3 separate regions of the Homo sapiens genome follow, and regions 1 and 2 are each linked to region 3. Evidence: promoter capture Hi-C in human tissues and cell types (Jung and others, 2019). All regions are on one chromosome and are shown on one strand. The core of a region is centred on a gene start or on the middle of the fragment in contact, and the rest is flanking DNA. Distances in the headings are between cores, read along the strand shown.

Region 1 (2,700 bases), core at 183-2,682, 53 kb before region 3:
TGCACCTGTCTGTATTTTATTTGTACATATCTGTATTTGTATATTGTCTACCTGGTACCAAATTGACTTATAAATAAATGAATACTCATAAATTAATAATCCCAAATGCTTTTCAAATTCATATGATGTTAGTTATCTTTCATGAATAACACTAGTTTTAAAATTGTTGGTAAAATAAAATATAATGTTTTTAGAATTTAAGACATTTTTGCCTGGGTGTACTGGTCAGACCAATTTATACTGTCTTTATGGGATGTTTTAGGGTCATATAACTGTGACTTCTATGATATTTTTGTATTTGTTTGATTTGTTTATGAGCTTATGCTTTGATTTTGACCCTTTGGATTCTGGGGTCTACACAAGTGGCCATGGTGAGGACTGGGGACATATGTGTGTCCCCACAGCCTGGACCGCATCCTCTCTGCCCCAGCTGTGCCTCTTGGTCATGCCTGGAAGGATCTAATCCCTTAGACATGGTCTTCACAGCTCTGTCCTCTGTCCTAGGCTCCAAGTCTGGTATATAACAACTCAAAATGCTTACTTCCTAGGTTTTTCACTAAAAATTACAGTTACTAAGAGTTAACATTGTAATTAATATATATATATATAATTAAAACTACTAGCTGTAAGAGAAGCAATTCTATATGCAAAGTATATAATAAAAGTAGAATGTGTTTTTCATTTAAAAAAGGATTATAAAAACATGAGAATGTGGTTTTTGTTAAAGGGAAAGTAGTTTTGCCTAGTTTAGAGGCTATTTACATGTTGTTTTAAATTGAAGGAATTTTTAAAATGATAGATAAAACTGAATGGATATGAAATGCTTGGAAAAGAAAAAGAGAAAAATTGTAGGAGTTTATAAAAAGTTTATAGAAATCTTGCGTGGTCAATGCTGATTGAGATTGGATGGATATATTAATAAGGTTTTTTAAAAATTAGCTTTAGTATTAATAATACACTGATACAAGGGCAGAATTTGATTCTGTCTCTCCCTCTCTCTTTTTAGAAACAGGAGCTCACTTTGTCATCCAGGCTGGAGTACAGTGGCACAATTAGAGCTCACTGCAGTTTTGACACCCTGGGCTCAATTAATCCTCCTGCCTCAGCCTCTCAAGTACCTAGAACTACAGACATGAGCCACCATGCTTGGCTAATTTTTAAAATTTTTTGTAGAGACAAGTTCTCACTATGTTTCCCAGGCTGGTCTCAAACTTCTGGCCTCAAGCAACCCTCCTGCCTCGGCCTCCCAAAGTCTTGGGATTACAGATAGAGCCACTGTGACCAGCCTGATTTTCTCTTTTGAACAAGATTTTCATGTAGTATTAATAAGAGGTAAAAGATTTTTGTTCGCCTTTTGAATAATCTGCAAAAAAGTACAGAAGGGGAGAGAGGGAGAGACAGATTCTGTTGTTGTCATAATGTCTTTATTAGGTGTTTTGATTGTTTGGAAAACTGAGTCTCCTCTCTATCAAAGAGCAACATTTTTGCTTTTTGAAATATTCGAATTATCACTTGGCTAAATAAATTACCTTTTTTTAACAGTGATCTATGATCCTGTTTTGATCAAGTGTTTTAAACTTTTCTCATTTTGATATCAAGTGTGTTAAACCCTTGATATTTAACATGCTTCCCCAAATCAAATCTTAAATCCTAAAATTTAGACTTTTTGACCCCAAACTAATTTGGATATTCCATATAGGGTCACTGGAAGTCCAAGAGAAACATACTAGGCTTATTTGGTATGTTAAAATCACACCGGAATTATTGTCAAATAAGAAATGGGATTTGACTTTTTTTGAGTTCTACTTTTATGGATATGTTATTAACCCATTTATGCCTGAGGTTGCAATTTTTTGAATTTTTGCAATCAGACCTTGGTGATGACCTTGAGCAGTATGATATAAATAACCCATGTGCTTAGTGTTCCAGTAATGGAACACTAGGCATAAATTGGTTTAATATGTGTTCAAAAATTGCATGACATTTGTGGTATGTCTTAGTATAGGCAGTAAATTGCTTTAGTTTGATGCTTTATTTTCTAAAAGCACTTGGCAGATCCTAAAGTGTTGAGTCTTCAAGGCAATTCATGGAAAGGACTCTGACAAGTAATCTTGAATACAGGTTTCCAATAACTTTGGAGATTATACTATTGGACTAGATAAAAACTTCCAGAACTGTAGTAAAAAGAAAAACAAAACCTGATGAGTTCATGAAGATTCCTAATTCAAGATCAAGCAAAACTAGAATTAATTACATTGGATTGAACTGATAGAGAATTAAAATCATTCTTATGGCTTTGGTTTGAAATATTGCGGATCCTTTTTGTGTTTTGTTTTCTAGAGTCAAGAAATTCTTTTTTTTCTTTTGAGCTATTTATAGCATATAGCAATTGTGTAAAATATACTTTTGTGAACAAAATTGAAACATTTACCCTCCTCTCTACCTGATTTCTCCAGAATTCAGGAATTATAAATATCCTTATTTTTTGGCAATATAGTTACCTCCATAAATTCAATAAGGATCTATTTTCTTACATAATAGGACATGTTGGAAACACTGGTTATCTTACTAAAGTTTTGACTGAATATCATATTTTCAAATATGAACAGACTGCTTTGAGGGATTAAGGTTGACTTTTTAAAGCCAATAGGCTTGGGAAAATATCGACCTGGTATCTTGTCTACACAGTTCCCTTACAGG
Region 2 (2,700 bases), core at 182-2,681, 62 kb after region 3:
CTTCAGTCGGCGTTCTCATAAAGACACCTGTCATTGGATTTATGACCCCCCCCCCAATCCAGCATGATTCAGTATTAACTTGATAACATCTGCAAAGACACTATTTCCAAATAAGGTCACATTTGAAGTTCCAGGTTCACAAGGATTTGGGGGAGACACTATTCAGCCACATACAATGGTGTTATTCCCCCATTTTCTAGAAGAGGAAACTGAGACACAGAAAATGACTTGCTCGAGATCATGTGGCTTCGTAAGTGGCAGGTCCAGGATCTGTGCTCCTGTCTGCCTGACATCAAGACCTGCCCGACCCACCCCACCACCCTAGAACTCCAAGGACCTCAGTCATCACTGTCACTTACTGATGTGCCATTTGACATCCATTCTTCCATTTAACCCTCAAAACAGTCTTCTGGGACTGGAGACATGATGCTTGTTTCATAGACAGCAGCTTAGAAAGGCTAAGTGGCTTGCCCAAGACCATACAGCAAATTAGGGAAAGAGCCAGGATTAGAACTGAAGTCAACCTGACTTCAGAATCAAGGGCTTACCCACTACGACCTTGAAACACTTCCATTTATCTCTTTGCTTTGTGACCATTTAAATCTGGAGGAATCACATATTGCCATCCCTGCAATTCAAAGGCTGTTTTCCAGAGTCAGAGATCCTCCCCACCTAATCCATGTTGAAGGGGCTCTCCCATCCCTAGGAGGGGGATGGGGAGCGGAGAAGCCACCTCCCCCATCCACATTTACACACACACTCACACATCCGCACTCACACACTCACACTCCTCTGCCAACCAGCCATCTCCCAGAGCCAATTAACAAGGCTGGGTGGTCTCAAGGGAGCCCCACGGGGTGATAGACTTATTGATCCGCTAGAGTTGTGGAGTGTCAGGCCGGAGAGAGGAGTCATTTAGGCAGTGTTCTCTCTTTCTGAGTGCAGCAGGGACTCCGGGGGTGGAGAGTAAGTTGTATTTACTGTGACGGTAATTGAAAGGCAGCAGCAGCCACCCCACATTGTCCCCGGCAATACCTAATTGGTGGACCAAAAACTGCAGGAGAGCTGAGGCTGGGGCTGGGGGTGGGGAGAGGGAGAAAGAAAGTTAACATAGCCCAGAATCAATAGCAAAAGCTTTCACAGTGTCAGGCACAATTGATGGAGCTGAACGACTGGAAGCTGCAGAAAATTAGCCTTGAGGCTGACTTGGTTTGAAAGTTAAAAGCTGGTAAATGCAGAGACAGACGGGAGTTCCCGGCCACCCCTTCTGTTGTCATTTTTCTGGTGGCAACTGGAGGCCTGGTGCCAGCTCAGGGTGCACAGGCCTGGGGGAGGATGCATCAGACGGACTCTAATTTGGCCACCTGGTAAAGGACGCAAGACATGGAAAGGCTGCGGTCACCCATGACCTTGGCCCAATCGTGTCAGCTCACAGAGCTTTAGTTTGCTCATCTGCAGAGTGTGCACCTAGTATGGGAGTGCAGTGTCGTATGGTGGAAAGAACATGAAAAGACCAGGGTTTGAACCCCAGGTGTGCCATGTCCTCATGGTGGGACACTGAATAGGTGACTTAACCCCACTAGAAAAGGAGAATTGTGATACCTGGCTGTGGTAGGCTGAGAATGGACCCCTAAAAGATATTCACGTCTCAATGCCTGGAACTTGTGAGTGCTACCTTATAGGGCAAAATAAAAATGATTCTTTGCAGATGTGACTCAGTTAAGGATATTGAGATGGGCAGATTATCCTGGAGCATCTGGGAGGACCTTAAATGCAATCACCACTGTCCCTTATAAGAGAGTGGCAGAGAGATATTTTACAAAGACACACAGAGGAGGAGGTGACATGAAGATGGAGCAGAGGGTGATCTGAAGATGCTGTCCTTGAAGACTGGAGTGATGCAGCCACAAGCCAAGGAATACTGGCAGCCTCCAACACTGGAAGAGATTCTCCCCTAGAGCCCCTGGAGGAAGAACAGCCCAGCTGACACCTTGCTTTCTGCCCAGTGATCCTGATTTTGAACTTCCGGCCTCGGTAACTGTGAGAGAATAAATGCCTATTGTTAAAGATGCCACTTTGTGGTCACTTGTTATAGCAGCCTCAGGAAACTAATGCACCAGCTTTGCAGAGCTGGGAAGATGAGAAACGTGTATTAAAACAGCTGGCACATGGCAAAATTCAAAGCCGAGACATCACAACTCTCAAGCAATCAGCAGCTGTCAAGCTAGAGCCCAGGGCCCCGTTTTAAGGCCAGGTCTTCAGTTTCTACATGAAGCATCTGAAATTTCTCCAACAAGATTAATTGAGAAAATTATTATAATCTTTTGAGACAATAATAATTGGTCTCACTCTGTCACCCAGAGCTCGCTGCAGCCTTGTCCTCATGGGCTAAAGTGACTCTCCCACATTAGCCTCACGAGTAGCTGGGACTACAGGTGCACACCACCACACTCAGCTAATTTTTTTATTTTTTTTTTGTTTTTGAAAACAAGGTCTCACTATGTTGCCCAGGCTGGTCTCGAACTCCTGGCTTCAAGCGATCCTCTCACCTTGGCTTCCCAAAGTGTTGGGATCACAGGTGTGAGTCACTGCATCTGACTGAGAAAATTACATATTGTCTGTTTTCTTTTGCTAGAATGCAAGCCCCAAGAGGACACGTTTCTTTATTTTGTTCACCCATATACTCAAATGCCTAGGACA
Region 3 (2,700 bases), core at 83-2,582:
TCAGATGCCAACATTTTAAAATTGAGAGTGATTATGTCACTACTGGGATTCTAAGCTTTTTGCGACAGTGGGAGGATGAGGCAATGCTGGGCCTGATACCATCGGCTGGGGTGGGGCGGACAGACGTCCTTACTTGTTCACTTTACCTACCCAGCCTCCATATGCAGCAAGAGTTTGAGACCCCTGCACAGGACTTTGGGGACTCTTTGAGGACCTTGGTCAGGAGAAGGGTAGAATTAGTTCTGTGCTTTGGAAGGTCCTCTGATGACAATTGATACTAGCGATGATGGTGCCGATGATCAGAAAGAGGAAAAGGAGGAAGAAGCAGAGAATAGTTCATATTTACTAAGCTTTCATGATGGGGGCTCTGCCCCAGTGTTTATTCCTAGTAGCCCATTTAGTTCTCCCCACAAGCTGATGAGGTGCGTATGCTGTCATCCTCCTTTTTCAGACAAAGCACAGAGCGGTGAGGTCTCTTGCCTAAGGTCATATAGTTGGTAAGTAGCAGAGCCAGGTAGTCTGGGTCCAGGACCCACAGCACTGGTGATGGGGGAGGGGAAATGGTGAGGGGGGGTCTGGGAGACGTGAGTCTTCCCTCAATCTTTCACCGTAGGAGATTGTCTGGTTTTAAAAGAGAAGATGTGTCCACATCTAACCCCGATCTGAGCACTAATGCAATGTCTTTCTCCACTGTTCTCAGAAAGGCTGGTTTTTCTTAATAAACTTGTCAGGCAGGGAAGGAGGGCAGAGGCACTCAAGGGCCGGCTCAGGTGGCTTGGCTGCATGCCCTGGCTCCAGACTCCACTGCCATGTTCCCGTTCCCTGCTTGGCCAGCATAAAGTTGACCCCACTGTGAGGACCAGCAGACCTCACAAGAATGACCCCATCCACGCCTACTGGGGCTCCACCTGCCCATGACTCACCACACCCAAGCCTCTGAGCCCAGTGGACTTGCAAAAGAGAAAATAAAGCACACACATAAAGAATAACCAACCCCATGCATTTCCTGGCATCGGGTGACTGTTTGGTTAAGAGCTTCCTCCTCTTTTGTATGCCCACTGGATACTCCTAACATCCCCTAGCTGCTGACCACAGAGCTGGCTTAGGTGGCTGATCACAAGCTCAGCCCCTGGGCGGGCCCCCCACCCCAGCCACCAGGGAAGCATGGAAGGAGGCCAGCCGCTGGGATCTGCCAGCTCTGGGCCCCAGCGGCCACCCTCTGCAGCTCAAAGTCACCTTTGCTCCTCTCCTCTCCTCGGCTGGCCAGCCAGAACCAGCCCAGAACTCCCTCCCCTCCGCTCAGCAGGACCCAGGAACTGGTCCCTACTGGGCAATTATTAATCAGATTCTTGACATTCCTCAGCCCCAGGTTGGCTGGAGAAGCATGTTCCCCAGAGGAGCAGAGGCCCAGGACTGGCATTTGGATATGCAGCTGACCGGCAAGGTGGTGCTGTCAGCCGCTGCCCTGCTCCTGGTGACTGTGGCCTACAGGCTGTACAAGTCGAGGCCTGCCCCAGCCCAGCGGTGGGGTGGGAATGGCCAGGCAGAAGCCAAGGAGGAAGCAGAGGGCTCAGGGCAGCCTGCTGTACAGGAGGCTTCTCCTGGGGTGCTCCTGAGGGGGCCAAGACGTCGGAGGAGCAGCAAGCGGGCTGAAGCACCACAGGGCTGCAGCTGTGAGAATCCAAGAGGCCCCTATGTCCTGGTCACGGGGGCCACTTCCACAGACAGGAAGCCCCAGAGAAAAGGCTCAGGTGAGGAGCGGGGCGGGCAGGGCTCGGACTCTGAGCAGGTGCCTCCTTGCTGCCCCAGCCAGGAAACCAGAACAGCTGTTGGCAGTAACCCTGACCCTCCCCATTTCCCCCGCTTGGGCAGCGAACCGAAGAGCTCCCCAGCTGGACTCATTGCAGCAGCCGACGGCAGCTGTGCCGGTGGTGAGCCTTCTCCATGGCAGGACAGTAAACCCCGTGAGCATCCAGGACTGGGGCAACTAGAACCTCCCCACTGTCACTACGTGGCTCCCTTGCAAGGCAGCAGTGACATGAACCAGAGCTGGGTCTTCACCCGTGTGATAGGGGTCAGCAGAGAAGAGGCTGGGGCTCTCGAGGCTGCCTCCGATGTTGACCTGACCCTGCATCAGCAGGAGGGCGCCCCCAACTCCTCCTATACCTTCTCATCCATAGCCCGCGTCCGAATGGAGGAGCATTTCATACAGAAGGCGGAGGGGGTTGAGCCCCGGCTCAAGGGCAAGGTGTACGACTACTATGTGGAATCTACCTCTCAGGCCATCTTCCAGGGCAGGCTGGCTCCCAGGACAGCAGCCCTGACTGAGGTTCCATCCCCTAGGCCACCGCCAGGGTCCCTGGGAACAGGGGCTGCCTCGGGAGGCCAAGCCGGTGACACAAAGGGTGCAGCCGAAAGAGCCGCCTCCCCGCAGACAGGGCCGTGGCCCTCCACCCGAGGCTTCAGCCGGAAGGAGAGCCTTCTGCAGATAGCGGAGAACCCAGAGCTGCAGCTGCAGCCAGATGGCTTCCGGCTCCCCGCTCCACCCTGCCCAGACCCGGGCGCCCTGCCTGGCTTAGGCAGAAGCAGCCGGGAGCCCCATGTGCAGCCGGTGGCCGGGACCAATTTCTTCCATATCCCGCTCACCCCTGCTTCAGCCCCACAGGTCCGCCTGGATCTGGGCAATTGCTATGAGGTGCT

The links. The method cuts DNA at HindIII sites, captures the fragments that hold promoters and counts their contacts. A contact is called where the count stands out against the background at its distance.
Region 1: a contact is called between a fragment that was not itself captured here and the fragment with the promoter of KLHDC7A in region 3, in 3 of the 25 tissues and cell types used here (H1 embryonic stem cells, bladder and neural progenitor cells).
Region 2: a fragment that was not itself captured here is called in contact with the fragment with the promoter of KLHDC7A in region 3 in 1 of the 25 tissues and cell types used here (H1 embryonic stem cells).

What each region holds. Positions count from the first base shown.
Region 1 is chr1:18,426,546-18,429,245 of GRCh38, forward strand. No RefSeq gene overlaps it. Among named protein-coding and RNA genes, the nearest start is that of KLHDC7A, 53 kb to the right of the region's middle. The HindIII fragment of the contact is 8,650 bases long and covers 1-2,700 here.
Region 2 is chr1:18,541,671-18,544,370 of GRCh38, forward strand. No RefSeq gene overlaps it. Among named protein-coding and RNA genes, the nearest start is that of KLHDC7A, 62 kb to the left of the region's middle. The HindIII fragment of the contact is 9,649 bases long and covers 1-2,700 here.
Region 3 is chr1:18,479,598-18,482,297 of GRCh38, forward strand. KLHDC7A (kelch domain containing 7A) reads left to right here and starts at 1,333. Exons shown (of 1, transcript NM_152375.3): 1 at 1,333-2,700. The coding sequence starts at 1,385. RefSeq lists enhancers at 411-1,283, 1,284-2,155. The HindIII fragment of the contact is 16,937 bases long and covers 1-2,700 here.